2 separate regions of the Homo sapiens genome follow, and region 1 is linked to region 2. Evidence: promoter capture Hi-C in human tissues and cell types (Jung and others, 2019). All regions are on one chromosome and are shown on one strand. Each heading gives the region's core, a stretch centred on a gene start or on the middle of the fragment in contact. The rest is flanking DNA. Distances are from core to core; before and after follow the strand shown.

Region 1 (7,224 bases), core at 2,180-4,679, 72 kb before region 2:
TTTAATTCAGTGTCTGACTGACTTAATCTATTACACTTTTCCTCTCTCACCTTCCAATATGGGCTGTTAGGCATATATTAAATATATTTTCGCTATTCATTTCAAATTTTTCCTAACGAATGTATACATCTTATTTTAGTTCCTTTTTCTAAAATAATGCAGTTTGATGGTGGATTTTTTCCTTTCTTCAGGCATACATTATCATATTTTTATCACAAAGCTTATAAACATGAATCTCTTAAATCCGTGTACATTAAATACCACATATGGGGCCAGAGATGTTAAGAGTAATACCTTAGTATTGGATAGCACTGAAGAGGTAGAACCTTCCTCACTTCTTCCACTCCTTTGCTATAACACATTCGCTATATTAGCAGCCAGAATGACTTTTTTTTTTTTGAGACGGAGTCTCTGTCTGTCGCCCAGGCTGGAGTGCAGTGGCGTGATCTCTGCTCACTGCAACCTCTGCCTCCGGGGTTCAAGCAATTCTGCCTGCCTCAGCCTCCCTAGTAGCTGAGATTACAGGCCCCCCACCCCACCACACCCAGCTAATTTTTGTATTTTTTTAGTAGAGACGGGGTTTCGCCATGTTGACTAGGCTGGTCTTGAACTCCTGACCTCAGGTGATCTGCCCACTTTGGTCTCCCAAAGTGCTGGGATTACACGCGTGAGCTACCACTCCCAGCCCAGAATGATCTTTTAAAAACAAATCAGATCATATCACCATCTTGCTCCAAACCGTTCATGGCTTCCATCACATTTAGAATAAAATCCATAATTAACACCTCTACAAATCTGTATATGATTGTTTTGTTTCCTACCACATATTCTCTCTGATACTGCTCTAGTCATACTGGCCTCCCTGAGGTTTCTTAATCCTGCCAAGTTTCTCCCCATCTCAGAGTCTTTATGCTGTGCAGGAGAATGATTTTCCTCCCAGATGCTTCTAGCTCATGCCCTCATTTTAATGAAGGTTCTGCTCACATGTTACCTCTGAAAGTCTTCCTCTTACCACCTTACCCTGCCATTCTCTCCTTTCTTTACTTGTCGTCATAGCACTTTTACCACATAGCTTCATATTGCTTGTTTCCTTAGTGGAAGCTCAACAAGCTTTGCTTTGTTTACTCCTCCATCCCTAGCATCTACAATACTGCCTGCACACAGAAAGTATTCAATAAATATTTGTAAATAAATGAATGTTGGGTTCTTCCCTCTCTCTCCTACTCTCCTCTTGGGACACAGACCCAGAAGGTTCACCTGTAAATGCCAGCCAGTGACCTGATTTGGATGTAAACACCAGCTGCAAGAGGGTTGACTACACAGGAGAATAAGATCCTGTGAAAGTCCTGAAATAGAGACAGAGCTCTCTTTTAAAAAGGCTATAATTTAGGGTTGCCACTATTCCCTTAGAGTTGGAAACATAATTCTTGGAGGAAAACAAACAGGAAAAACATGGAAATTAGATTTACATAAATAAGTGAAAAGGTAAGTCCACTAAATACCTGTGGTAGATTGAAATATTGTTCCCACATATTTGCTCTCCTTTAGAGGAATAGACAGGCTTGCCCACTACTATGTGACTTCCAGTGCTGCCCCGCAGGCATTCCAGGCTTGGCTATGATCCCATGATGGGATTTTCCTCCTCTCTTCGGTTAAATGTCATATTGTAATCACAAAGTTTAGAAACATGAATCTTGCTTTGGTCAATAAAATATAAGTGGAAGGGACAATCCGACAGTTCTGGGTGGAAGCTTTAAGAGTCACTGCCTTTCTCTACTAGTGTGCCTGCTCTTTCCCTCCACCAAGAGAGACAAGTTCTGAATAGAGGCTGGTCCTTCTGCCTGGGTTCTAGAATAAGAAATTACATGGATCAGAGCCTCAGCCACTAGCTGACATAATATATAATGTGAGCGAAGGGGAAACTGAGGTTTAGGTTCGTTTGTTACTATAGACTTACTTAGCAAAAGCTGACTACTATAGTGCCTAATCAAAGAAACATGATGATCTGAACTAGAAGTGGTATGGCACCCCCAACCGTCTGCATTTAACCCACTTCAAGTAATGGAAAACTGTTGAAGTTCAACAGGCTAACACACTACAGAGAACAAATCTGAGGCCTTCAGGTAAAATATTTGAACAAGGGACAGAGTATGGTTCCCATTAGTGTTCAGGGTTTGGTTAGAGTGAAAGTGATTGATAAAATGACACTTCAACTCTACTTTATGTGTTAATATTACAAGCTCTAATTAGTGTTATCTCTAAACTTCCAGCCAGAATAACTCAGAAAGCATGTCACACTGAATCATCGTATGCTAATTAATAACAGCAGCACTTTTCTTGTTATCAAAGAGTTCCTTTAGGAAATAGTTACTTTGGTATATGTAAGCATATTTTGTGTGTATGTAAAAACGTGTATTTATAGGAGAGCTGAGAAAAACTAAAGACAAAAATTTGAAATGAAAAGGGAAGGATTTCATTATGGAAGCTTGGAGGTAGGAATCCTATGGAAGCAGTGGGAGGTAGCAATCACAGAAGACAAACATCATGGCTGGGTACATACCGGTTTTTTTTTTTTTTTTTTTTTTGAGATGGAGTCTCTCTCTGTCACCCAGGCTGGAGTGCAGTGGCGTGATCTTGGCTCACTGCAAGCTCCACCTCCCGGGTTCACACCATTCTCCTGCCTCAGCCTCCCAAGTAGCTGGGATTCCAGGTGTGCACAACCATGCCTGGCTAATTTTTGTATTTTTAGTAGAGACGGGGTTTCACCATGTTGGCCAGGCTGGTCTCAAACTCGTGACCTCAGGTGATCTGCCTTCCTTGACCTCCCAAAGTGCTGGGATTACAGGCATGAGCCACCACGCCTGTGTGCATACAGTTTTACAGGAAAGATTCAAGCACACTTTTTGGCCTCAAGTGCCCCTTTTTCTATAACCCATCTCTGCCTGTTAGAAGCCTCCTCATGTTTCATTGTCCATCTCAAATGTCTGTTCCCCACTCAACCTTCACTAATGCCATCAGCTGGAATTAATTTTGCCTTTCCCATATTTTCATACCCCATTATGCCTCCATTAGAAGTGCACTGAATACACATTTCAGCCAAATGCCAAAAGGGCCAAAAAATAAGTCACTCTTCAGCTGAAGCCAAAGTTGATGACAAACATCACTATTAAAGAATAAACTTCTGGGATATGCACATAAACCTAAAATATTATCCCCAAATTTTAATACTATTTTAATAATATTAAAAATGTTAGTGCTAAAACTGTTCAGTTTAACATTTACTATAGAAGCAATAAATTCCCAGTGCTGTCCATTGTTAGACTCTCCTACAGTCACTGCAGAAAGCCAAATTTCAGCTCAGGTGAGTGAATGAATATGATCCCTGTCATAAATGGAATTAAATAAGAATTAAATTCAGGTCTTTAAATGATAAATGCTAGATGCCCCAAACCCTTCTACCAAGACCAGAGTTGTGATATGATTTAACTTCTGCTTACTTTTCCTTGTCTTTATTTATTTTTATTTATTATTATTATTTGTTTTTGAGACAGAGTCTCACTCTGTCGCCCAGGCTGGAGTGCAATGGCACGATCTTGGCTCACTGCAACCTCCACCTCCTGGGTTCAAGCGATTCTCCTGCCTCAGCCTCCTGAGTAGCTGGGACTACAGACGTGCACCACCACACCTGACTTATTTTTGTATTTTTAGTAGAGACAGGGTTTTGCCATGTTGGCCAGGCTGATCTTAAACTCCTGACCTCAAGTGATCCTCCAACCTCGGCCTCCCAAAGTGCTGGGATTACAGGTGTGAGCCACCGCGCCTGGCCTCCTTGTATTATTTGAATTTTTTATAAACATTTATTGGCTTGAAAACAATGTATTGTTTTTTCTAGGTTATCTAGCCAATGGATTCCTTCTTGATATTTGTAGTGATTGTCAGCTTATTTTCCTATTTGCTTAAAAGTCTTAAATAATTGTTTCTTTTTGTCTTTTACTAAATTCTTATTGATACATTATAATTGTACATATGCATGGGAGTACATGTGATATTTTGCTACATGATACAATGTGTAATAATCAAACCAGGGTAATTGGTCATCATCTCAAACATTGATTATTTCTTTGTGTTGAGAACATTTCAAATCTTCCAGCTATTTTGAAATATGCAATACATTATTGACAACTACAGTCACCCTACTGTGCTGTTGAACCACTAAAACTTATTCCAAGTGTATTTTTGTACCCATTAACTAAACTGTCTTCATTTTTATCCTCCTTAAGTTTTTAATTTGTTTGTTTGTTTGTTTGTTTTTAGATGAAATCTCGCTCTGTTGCCCAGGCTGGAGTGCAGTGGTGCGACCTTGGCTCACTGCAACCTCTGCCTCCCGGGTTCAAGTGATTCTCCTGCCTCAGCCTCCCGAGTAGCTGGGACTTCAGGCGTGCACCACCACACCCAGCTAATTTTTTTGTATTTTTAGTAGACACAGGGTTTCACCATGTTGGTCAGGCTGATCTCAAACTACTGACTTCAAGTGACCCACCCACCATGACCTCCCAAAGTGCTAGGATTACATGTTTGAGCCATCGCACCCAACCAGTTCTTTAGAGAAGTTTTACAAGTGTTTACCCTTCAAAAAGCTTAAGGTTCTATAAAAATGTTATGAACCTTTCCTAAATTCCTGGCTTTTAAAGTGATGCATCCATAAGTGAGCCTAAGTACATAAAAGAAACTTGTGGTATCAGGAGGCTGGGCCAAAATGTGTGCATTACTAGAACATGAAAAGCACCATCAGGGGATTACTTTTTAAATTTCTTTTTCAGGTTGTTCATTGTTGGCATATAGAAATGCTACTGATTTTTATATGTCGACTTTGTTTCCTGCAACTTTACGGAATTTTTTTAATCAGTTCTAATAGTTGTTTGATGGCATCTTTAGGTGTTTCCAAATGTAAGATTATGTCATCTGCAAACTAGGATAATTTGATTTCTTCTATTCTAATTTGGATGCTCTTTATTTATTTCTCTTGTCTGATTGCTCTAGCTAGAACTTCCAGTATTATGTTGAATAACAGTGGTGAAAGTGGGCATCCTTGTCTTGTTCCAGATCTTAGAGGAAAGAGTTAATTTTTTCCCATTCAGTATGAAACTATCTGTGGGTCTGTCACATATGGTTTCTATTATGTTGAGGTATGTTCCTTTTATACCCAGTTTTTTTTTTTGAGATGGAGTCTCGCTCTGTTGCCCAGGCTGGAGTACAGTGGTGTGATCTCAGCTCACTGCAAGCTCTGCCTCCCAGGTTCACACCATTCTCCTGCCTCAGCCTCCCGAGTAGCTGGGACTACAGGTGCCTACCACCACACCTGGCTAATTTTTTTGTATTTTTTAGTAGAGATGGGGTTTCACTGTGTTAGCCAGGATGGTCTCAATCTCCTGACCTCGTAATCCACCCACCTCGGCCTCCCAAAGTATACTCAGTTTTTTTAGGGTTTTTATTATGGAGGGACATTGAATTTTATCAATTTTTTTTTTAGCATCAATTGAAATGATCATATGGTTTATGTCCTTCACTCTGTTGATATGGTGTGTCACATTGATTGATTTCTGGTGGGTTTTTTTTTGTTTTTTGTTTTTGTTTGAGTGAGATTCTTGCTCAGTCACCCAGGTTGGAATGCAGTACCACAATCTTGGCTCATTGGAACTTCTACCTCCTAGGCTCAAGCGATTCTTTCACCTCAGCCTCCTTAATAGCTGAGACCATGGGTGCACACCACCATGCCTGGCTAATTTTTTGTTTTTTGGTAGAGACAGGGTTCCACCTTGTTGTCCAGGCTCCCAAAGTGCTGGGATTACAGGCGTGAGCCACCACTCCTGGCCTGATTTGTGTATGTTGAACCATCCTTGCATTCCAGGGATAAATTCTACTTGGTCATGAAGAATGATCTTTTAAATGTCTTGTTGAATGCAGTTTGCTAGTATTTTGTTGAGGATTTTTGCATCAATACTCATCAGAGACACTGGTCTGTAATTTTCTTTTTTTGATGTGTCTTCGTCTAGTTTTGGTCTCAGGGTAATACTGGACTTGTAGAATGAGTTTGTATTCCCTTCTCTTCTATTATTTTGGAGCAGTTTGAGTAGAATTGGTATTAGTTCTTCTTTAAATGTTTGGTGGAATTCAGCAGTGAAGCCATCAGGTCTTGAGCTTTTCTTTACTGGGAGACTTTTTATTATGTCTTCAATCTCGTTACTTGTTATTGGTCTGGTCACACTTTGGATTTCTTCATGGTACAATCTTGATAGGTTTATGTGTCTAGGAATTTATTCATTTCCTCTAGGTTCCCAATTTATTTGCACATAGTTGCTCATAGTAGCTACTAATGATCCTTTGAATTTTTGTAGTATAAGTTGTAGTGTCTCCCTTTCCATTTCTGATTTTATTTATTTGGGTCTTCTTTTTTTTTTTTTTTCTTAGTCTGGGTAATGGTTTGTCAATTTTCCTAATCTTTTCAAAACACCAACTTTTTGTTTCATTGATCTTTTATGTTATTTTCTTCATTTCAGTTTCATTTATTTGTGCTCTGATCTTTATTATTTCTTTTCTTCTACTAATTTTGGGTTTGGCTTGCTCTTGTTTTTCTAGTCCCTTAAGATGCCTCATTATTTATTTGAAGTTTTTCTTCTTCTTTTGATGTAGACACTATAAACTTCCTTCTTGGTAATGCTTTCACTGTATCCCACAGGTTTTGTATGTTCTGTTTCCATCATCATTTGTTTCAAGAAAATTTTTCAATTTTCTTTCTGATTTCTTTATTGACCCACTGGTCATTCAGGAGCATATTGTTTAATTTCCGTGTATTTGTATAGTTTCTAAAATTCCTCTTGCTATTGATTTTTAGTTTTATTCCATTGTGGTCAGAGAAGATGCCTGATATTATCACAATTTTTAAAAGTATATTAAGACTTGTTTTGTGACAAAGCATCTATATCTGAGAATGATCCATATGCTGCGAAGAATGTGTATTCTGCAGTTCTTGGATAAAATGTTCTGTAAATATCTCTTAGGTCCATTTGGCCTATAGAGCAGATTAAGTCCAATGTTTCTTTGTTGATTTTCTCTCTGGAAGATGGGTCCAATGCTGAAAGTGGGGTGTTGAAGTCCCCAGCTATTATTGCATTGAGGTCTCTCTCTCTCTCTTTCTCTTTAGTTCTAATAATATTTGCTTTGTAT
Region 2 (6,641 bases), core at 2,384-4,883:
AGAGCCATAGCAGAAGAGCGCATCTCATTTTACACAACCACGAAGCCTTAAAGTTACGTAGAATTGACTTTTTGGTGTGCTGAAAATAAAAATGGTTCATAGTATACAACAAAGGACTAAGCAGGAGAATTTATAGGAAGAAAGTTAGGAAATTTAGGATGAAAAAGTAGACTGGGGTCAAACTGTTATGATCCATTAAAACCAGAAACTGAAATTTGAATTCTAATCTGTAAGTAATGTGAAGCACAAATACTTACAACTTACACATTTAATCATATGTCCTGACCTTTCACTCAAAAATGCATTAAAGGCAGTTTCTCAAAGGTGGTTCCATGTAACGATAGCCCCTCAAGATATTTTTCATTTTTTATTTTTGCACACAGTTTGGGAAACATTACATATCACATCCTATGGACATTCCCACCCCATTTACATCCCCATATACAATGATCATTAACCCATGAAAGGCTCTGAAAAGTCAAGAATAAACCAACTTGTCCAGCTTTGTTTAGTGTTTTCCACATCTGGCTAGGCAATTTCTTTTTCTTGTAACCCATTAACATTCTATGTATTTTGGGGAATACTGACTGAGAGATTCACAAGTACACACAGACATTCATGCAAGTAAATATGTATACTTTAAATTAGTATTTTCATGTATACATAAACACATATAATCCAGGTAAAGCAAAAATATCTTTGCAGCAAGGGATTCCGTGTAAGAGATTAAGTGTTGTAAGAGTTGATTCTGTTTTCGTGGTCTGGTAACAGGAAGTCTCTTCTGCACATGCCTTCTATGAACCTCTTTGAACCACTTAAAGTCTATAAGGAAAACATTTGGTTGTATATGATTTACACACAAGGGAATGAGAGGAAACCCCAAAACTTCTATCCTATCACAAAGCTAAATCATTTTTCCCCCAACACTACCCTAACCCAAAATAAAATGAACCACTGCCTATGTTCTCAAACTTCCTTACACACTGACACAGATCTCGGACACAGAGAGGAAAGGGACAGCACTTTCGGGATGGTTCTTGGGTAGGGCTAGAATTTCTTAGGTATGGAGAATTACTAATACTTTGAAGTTGAAGCTAGAGGATGGGGTACTTAAGCATAAATGATTGAGAGTAGCCAAGATAAACCAAAAATGGGAACACCAACCCCCCGTCCCCCCCACTCACACCTCCAATAGGTGATTTCAATTTTGGGAAGGTGAAGCCAAGAAATTCCCCACAGATTCACTGCAGCTGTTTGTCACGAACCACCCCCGTCTTCTACAACACTTTCTCTTTATTCGCTTATTTATTTTATTGACTTCCCCATTTCTTAAAGTTCAAATCTATAGAAAAGTTAAAAGAATAGTACAATAAACATTTGTTTTCTTCTTGATTCACCAACCGTCATCATTCTGCCACATTTGCTACGTTCCTGAACTTGTTCTGCTACCCCTATCCTTTTTTTTTTTTTTCTGACACAGCTGAAAGTTGCAGATGTCATGACACTTCACCTCCAATATCCACATCTCCAAAGAATAAGGATTGTCTGGTCTAGGTAACCACAAGAATGAACTATTATTGCACCTAAGAAAATTAACACCAATTCCATAATATCATCTAACATGCAATCCATATTCAAACATCCCCAACTATCTCCAAATTGTCTTTTATAGCTTTTTTTTTTGCATCTAGGATTCAAAGTTCACACATCCCAATTCACTATTGTATCACTTGAGTATTTTAACCTACAATAGTTGCTCCCATTTGCTCTGCCCCATCGCCAAGTCTTTTTGCAGGAACACTACAGAGGTGAAATTATGCCTCCTTATTGCTTCACAACGGGAGACTCGCAGTAGATGCTGCTAAACTTGGTCATTTGGTTCCAGTGGTGACCTCCTAATTTCTCCATTGTAAGGACAAATTTTCCCAGAGTAAACTGTGGTGAGATACTTTGAAATAATATGAAAATCCTATTCCCCAACCACCTTTCACTCAAAGGTTTTGGACCAGTTGGTAAGTCCTTGCCTTATTCAACTGTTATGTTAGGTTTGCAGAGCGCCGAGTTCCTGATTCTCTCATTCCTTCTATTGCATATTTCTTTTTCAAACAATGATCCATCAGTACGCAACTTCTCTTTTCTGTGTATACACATTCTGGTTACTTCTTGCTGGGGCTTCCTCCCCGACCTCCATGCTGACCACATTTGACCACTCGTGCCCAGCCCTAGGGAGCCACTAATCCTTTATCTGCTGATCCCATCACTTCACCTTCAGCAAATTAAAGACAAAAACAAACCCCATCATTTTGTTGCCCACCAATGTACAGTACCTTACAAAAATTAAAATGATTGCAATGCGTATTTATTGGGTTAGACTGAAGAGAGTCGATCGAGAAAATCAGTTTTATCTTTAAAAAAAAATCAGATTGCTGAAGCTCTGAAAAATCTTTCCTCCTCACTAGGGTAGAGGCGCTTGTTGTCACAATTAGGCTTTTTGTAGTGCTGTTAAACAGAAACACTCTCATCTTTTCAGTTCCCTGAGAGGGGAGAATCTTGGAAGAACAGAGGTTTACAAATCATTTAGCCCAAACGCCCCTTTACATGCAGAGGCCCAGAGAGGTGGAGGGACTTGCCCAGGTCCCTCAGCTCCTGAATGGTCAAGCTAAGAGGAGAACCTGGTTTTTAAAACACCTCCCCCGATCTTCTTTTCATTCCCGTCCTAAATGCCTCGTGATTCAGATATGTAATGGGCACAGACGAAGCTGCAGTAAGCACGGCCTCCTTCACTGCTAATTTGCATTGTGACGGCATCACCTTCCTACCTCTGAATACTCTAAAAATTCCCATTAGAAGCCTTTTATTACTGTTTTAAAAATCCACCTTCATTTCCGCAGGTCAACAGGGAACATTTAGGAAGCCTCAAGGGAGCACATACTACAATTACTTTAACCAGAAAAGTAATAACAATAATAATAAGGTTCTCGAGGATCCGCACGAGGCCGCTTACTGGGAGGCTGAAACGCCCTGCGAGTGACAGCTCCAGCGATCTCAGGAAAGACGCCGGCCAGTCCACCCCTCCCCATCGCCTGCTGAACGAGGCAGGGAGATGCATACCGCTCCAGGAGCTCACCAAACATGCACAGGAAGGGGAAAAGTGGGGGAACAAAGCCCGGAGTGGAAGAACACAGCCCCGCAGCCCGGGAGGACAGGAGACCGCGCCCTCCCCGCTGCGGCCCAGCGGGCTGCAGAGGCTGCGGCACCGCAGTGCGGGGCGCGGGACTCACACCCCGGCGGGCGCCTCCCGCCCGGGCGCAGCGCCTGGTCTCCCGGCGCAGCCGACCGGGCCGGGAGGCGAGAGGCGAGAGGCGGCCCGGCTCTGCACGCCCGCCCGGCCGACCGCCCATGTCGCGGAGCATCCTCCCGCGGGCAGGGAGGGCACGGCGGCCACCGCGCTGCGGGCCCGGGGGCTGCAGACACCGGCTGTCCAGAACAGGCCCCACCCGCCCCCCGGGGCGCTCACCCGTCCGTGCGCTCATCCCGGAGCCGGCTGTGCTGGCCGTCAGTCCGTCAGCCCCGGTGGAGCGGGGCCGGGAGAACAGGGGCGGCGCCGTGGCCGGGGCGAGCGCGGCGATCAACAGGCGGCTCCCGGCCGGGCGCGGCGCCGGGGCGCGCGGCTGCAGCGGAGCAGGCTGGGAAGCGTAGTTCCCGGCTGAGCCTCGCCGCGGCCCCGCAGTCCCCCAGCCCCGCCCTTCCCCGACAGGTGTCCTCTCCCGGAATCGGGGTCTGAACCCCGCCACAGCTCTGCAGGGGAGGAAGCACCTGGGTCGGGGAGAAGCCTGGGCAGGCTCTTTGGAGACGCTCGGGGCTCCGGAGAGCGTGGATGGCAAAGGCTTTCAAGCCTGTGATGAGCATTCCTGTGAGCGAGCATCCTGACACGGAAGCCGCGTTGAGAGCGGTCTCAGGTACAGACCCCGCCCGCCCCAGGTTTTCCTGGCTGGGCGTGGGCGTGGGAGGAGAGAGTAGTTGGGTTGGCAGCCTAGGGAGGGAAGGAGGTAAGCGAGGTGGAAGTTAGCAAGGCTCTAGGGTGATGGCGTGAGGGGCTGGAGAGCCCAAGCGCAGTGGCGGCTTCACTGAGGTGAGACCGGACAACTTAGCCTGTCTGAGCCTTCGCGTCCTCATCTGTAAAACAGGCTTCAAGCTTGAAAAAGTGTTGTGAGGATTAAGCGACCCATAGCACTTAGGATCTGGCACTTAGTGCATACTCAGTGAAAGTTCCTTCCTTGGGGTTTCCGAGGGAGTTCTTGGGCCGGGAAAGTCCTATATGTCGTGCTAACCTAAAGATAGTTGGACCTCGTTGGGCTGGGTAAATGTTAAAATCCACTGGGTTTGTTAGTCGTTGAGCCCGTTCACTTCATCCCTGAATATACCCTGAGATGTTCTGTCTGCCAGGTTCTTGAGAGCTCCAAAGATAGAGAAAATAAAGTCAAGTTTCTGAAGCATGACAGCAGAGTGGGGTGACATAGGACAAAGACCAACATTATGAAAATACATGGCATCTAGATTTAACTTCCAGAGGCCTTTTCTAATTAGATGTGATATCTCTCTCCTTCTTGAACTTTTGCAGCATATTTTGAGCATAACCTTTGCTTATGGGACTTATCTTGGCAGTCTAAGGTTCGTTGAGTTTTGCAAGTTGCTGCTATGCAGTGTTTCACATGATGGTGGGATTTGCATTCACAGATGTAGTGGAGGAAAATGAACCAAAGGGATGGATGCAGCATGGCTGGTGTAATCTCTATATGAAATTTTAGGCAAAATGTGAAAAGAGGTGAAACAGCTTTATAGTCTGTCTGGCACGAGGTGTGCAGTAATCGTGTGGCCAAAAAAACGTGCTGCAGAGGAAATTCCACATCTGAAAATGATAACACTGGTTTGCATTTATGAAAATACTTTCCTATTTGTGTTCTCATTTGATTTTTACAAGAACCCTTGTGAGACAGGCAGAGTGAAGGTATTTTTCCCCAATGATAGTTAATAAGAGGCACAGAGAGGTGATGTGACTTATTCAAGGTCATAGGGGTGTTCAGTAAGCCTGTCTTCTCTCCTTCCACTGTGGGCACCCCCAGCACTGTCTCCCTTTTGCACATTGCAAAATAGGGCCATACCTTCCCCAGCAGATGGGTTGAACCAGAAAGTAAAGTTAATCCTCTAAAACTCTGGGAACTAGCATGATGAACACTGGCACGCAGTGGCTGCTGACTGAGAGACCAGTGTTGTTTCTATGATCAATTGTGGTAATGGACTATATCTTGGGCCTCCTGTCAGAATGACAAATCTGAGCCAGAAAGAGTTAAATGAAATGGGGGTGTGACCAAATTACTTTAAGTCATGTTCCCAAGTTTTCCTGTACATTTGTTATTCCGAATGTCCTGTGTAACCGACAGGATGCCTTTGACTTTTTTATGTTGTACATTTGTTACAGTCATAGCCTTCTGTTAAATAAGAACAGGGCTGCTTACGGATCGAGCCAGCAGTTTTCCCAGAGAAAGCTGATAGTAGGCATATGCTGAAAATAATAAAGCAATTTCATTCATATTGGAAGAAAGAGTAGCAAAGGTGCTCAGTAGTGTACAGTATTTCTCTTTGGTTTCCCGTGGTTCTGCACGAGGAAAATGGCTGCATGTGATAAAACGAATAGAGTATTCCTTCAGAAACTAGCCATGAAAGGAAGCAGACAGGGGAATGATTTAAGTTAAAGTCATGTTCGGCAGTCGAAGCAGAGATACAAGAGCTATCCTACAGCCCCAGAGCCATGCTCCAGGAGGATGCTGACACCAAAATAAAGTGAGTTGTGAAAAGAAACTTCTGATCAGTCTCTGTCTGTATGATGAGTGTTGGAAGCTGGAAGGTGTTAAAGGATGAGTGAGGGAAGTAGAACATTTAACCTAATGTTAAAACTTAATGGAAAGATATTACCAGTTCCAGTCTGTTTAGCTCTTTAAATCTATTGCCTATGTCTTATCTTAAGGAAGAAAGGATGTCAATATGCCTATGACTTATCAGTTGAAACCCATGATCATTTCTGGACCATATCTTGTAAGTTTAACTTTTCTACTTGCTTTTTAGAAGATGAAAATGTAAAATTGAAACAGAACTCCTGGAGCTGGAAGGGACCTTACATATCATTTTGTGTAGCCATTTCTTCCTGTAAATGAGGAAGCTGATATATTGACTGTAATTGTCAAATGGCAGAAAGGAAAAAAGTTCAACGTGGCAGTTATAATGAAGTATTTTAATTATTCACAGTGGAATATGTAGCACACCTCATTAGGAACAGGTAGTAGACACTGTTGGTTGTCTATTAAACATTCAGTCCACCCTCTTCTTCTTTATAGAAGCCTATATGGGTGTTTACACATTAGGAAAGGTGACCCTATTAGCCTCTGAGAGGTACACTCTCAAATCTATCATAGACAAGAGGAATAGAATCCTCTTAACTGGCCTGTAAGAGTTTAGGAGTGGACATGTGACCCAGTTCTGGCCATTGTAAAGAGATACGATGAATCTGGGTCGGCCATATTGTTGTTGAGTCAGTCATCAACCAGCCCCAGTGCTGCCCTTCTTCTGGATTTCTTGTTATATGA

What was found. The method cuts DNA at HindIII sites, captures the fragments that hold promoters and counts their contacts. A contact is called where the count stands out against the background at its distance.
Region 1: a fragment that was not itself captured here is called in contact with the fragment with the promoter of TMOD2 in region 2 in 4 of the 25 tissues and cell types used here (aorta, dorsolateral prefrontal cortex, lymphoblastoid cells and 1 more).

What each region holds. Positions count from the first base shown.
Region 1 is chr15:51,820,274-51,827,497 of GRCh38, reverse strand. No RefSeq gene overlaps it. Among named protein-coding and RNA genes, the nearest start is that of TMOD3, 5.8 kb to the left of the region's middle. RefSeq lists a silencer at 6,040-6,240. The HindIII fragment of the contact is 5,527 bases long and covers 666-6,192 here.
Region 2 is chr15:51,748,589-51,755,229 of GRCh38, reverse strand. TMOD2 (tropomodulin 2) reads right to left here and starts at 3,633. Exons shown (of 10, transcript NM_014548.4): 1 at 3,518-3,633. It also overlaps a transcript of LYSMD2 not described here. RefSeq lists silencers at 3,220-3,279, 3,310-3,419, 3,470-3,899 and an enhancer at 4,010-4,079. The HindIII fragment of the contact is 8,938 bases long and covers 1-5,882 here.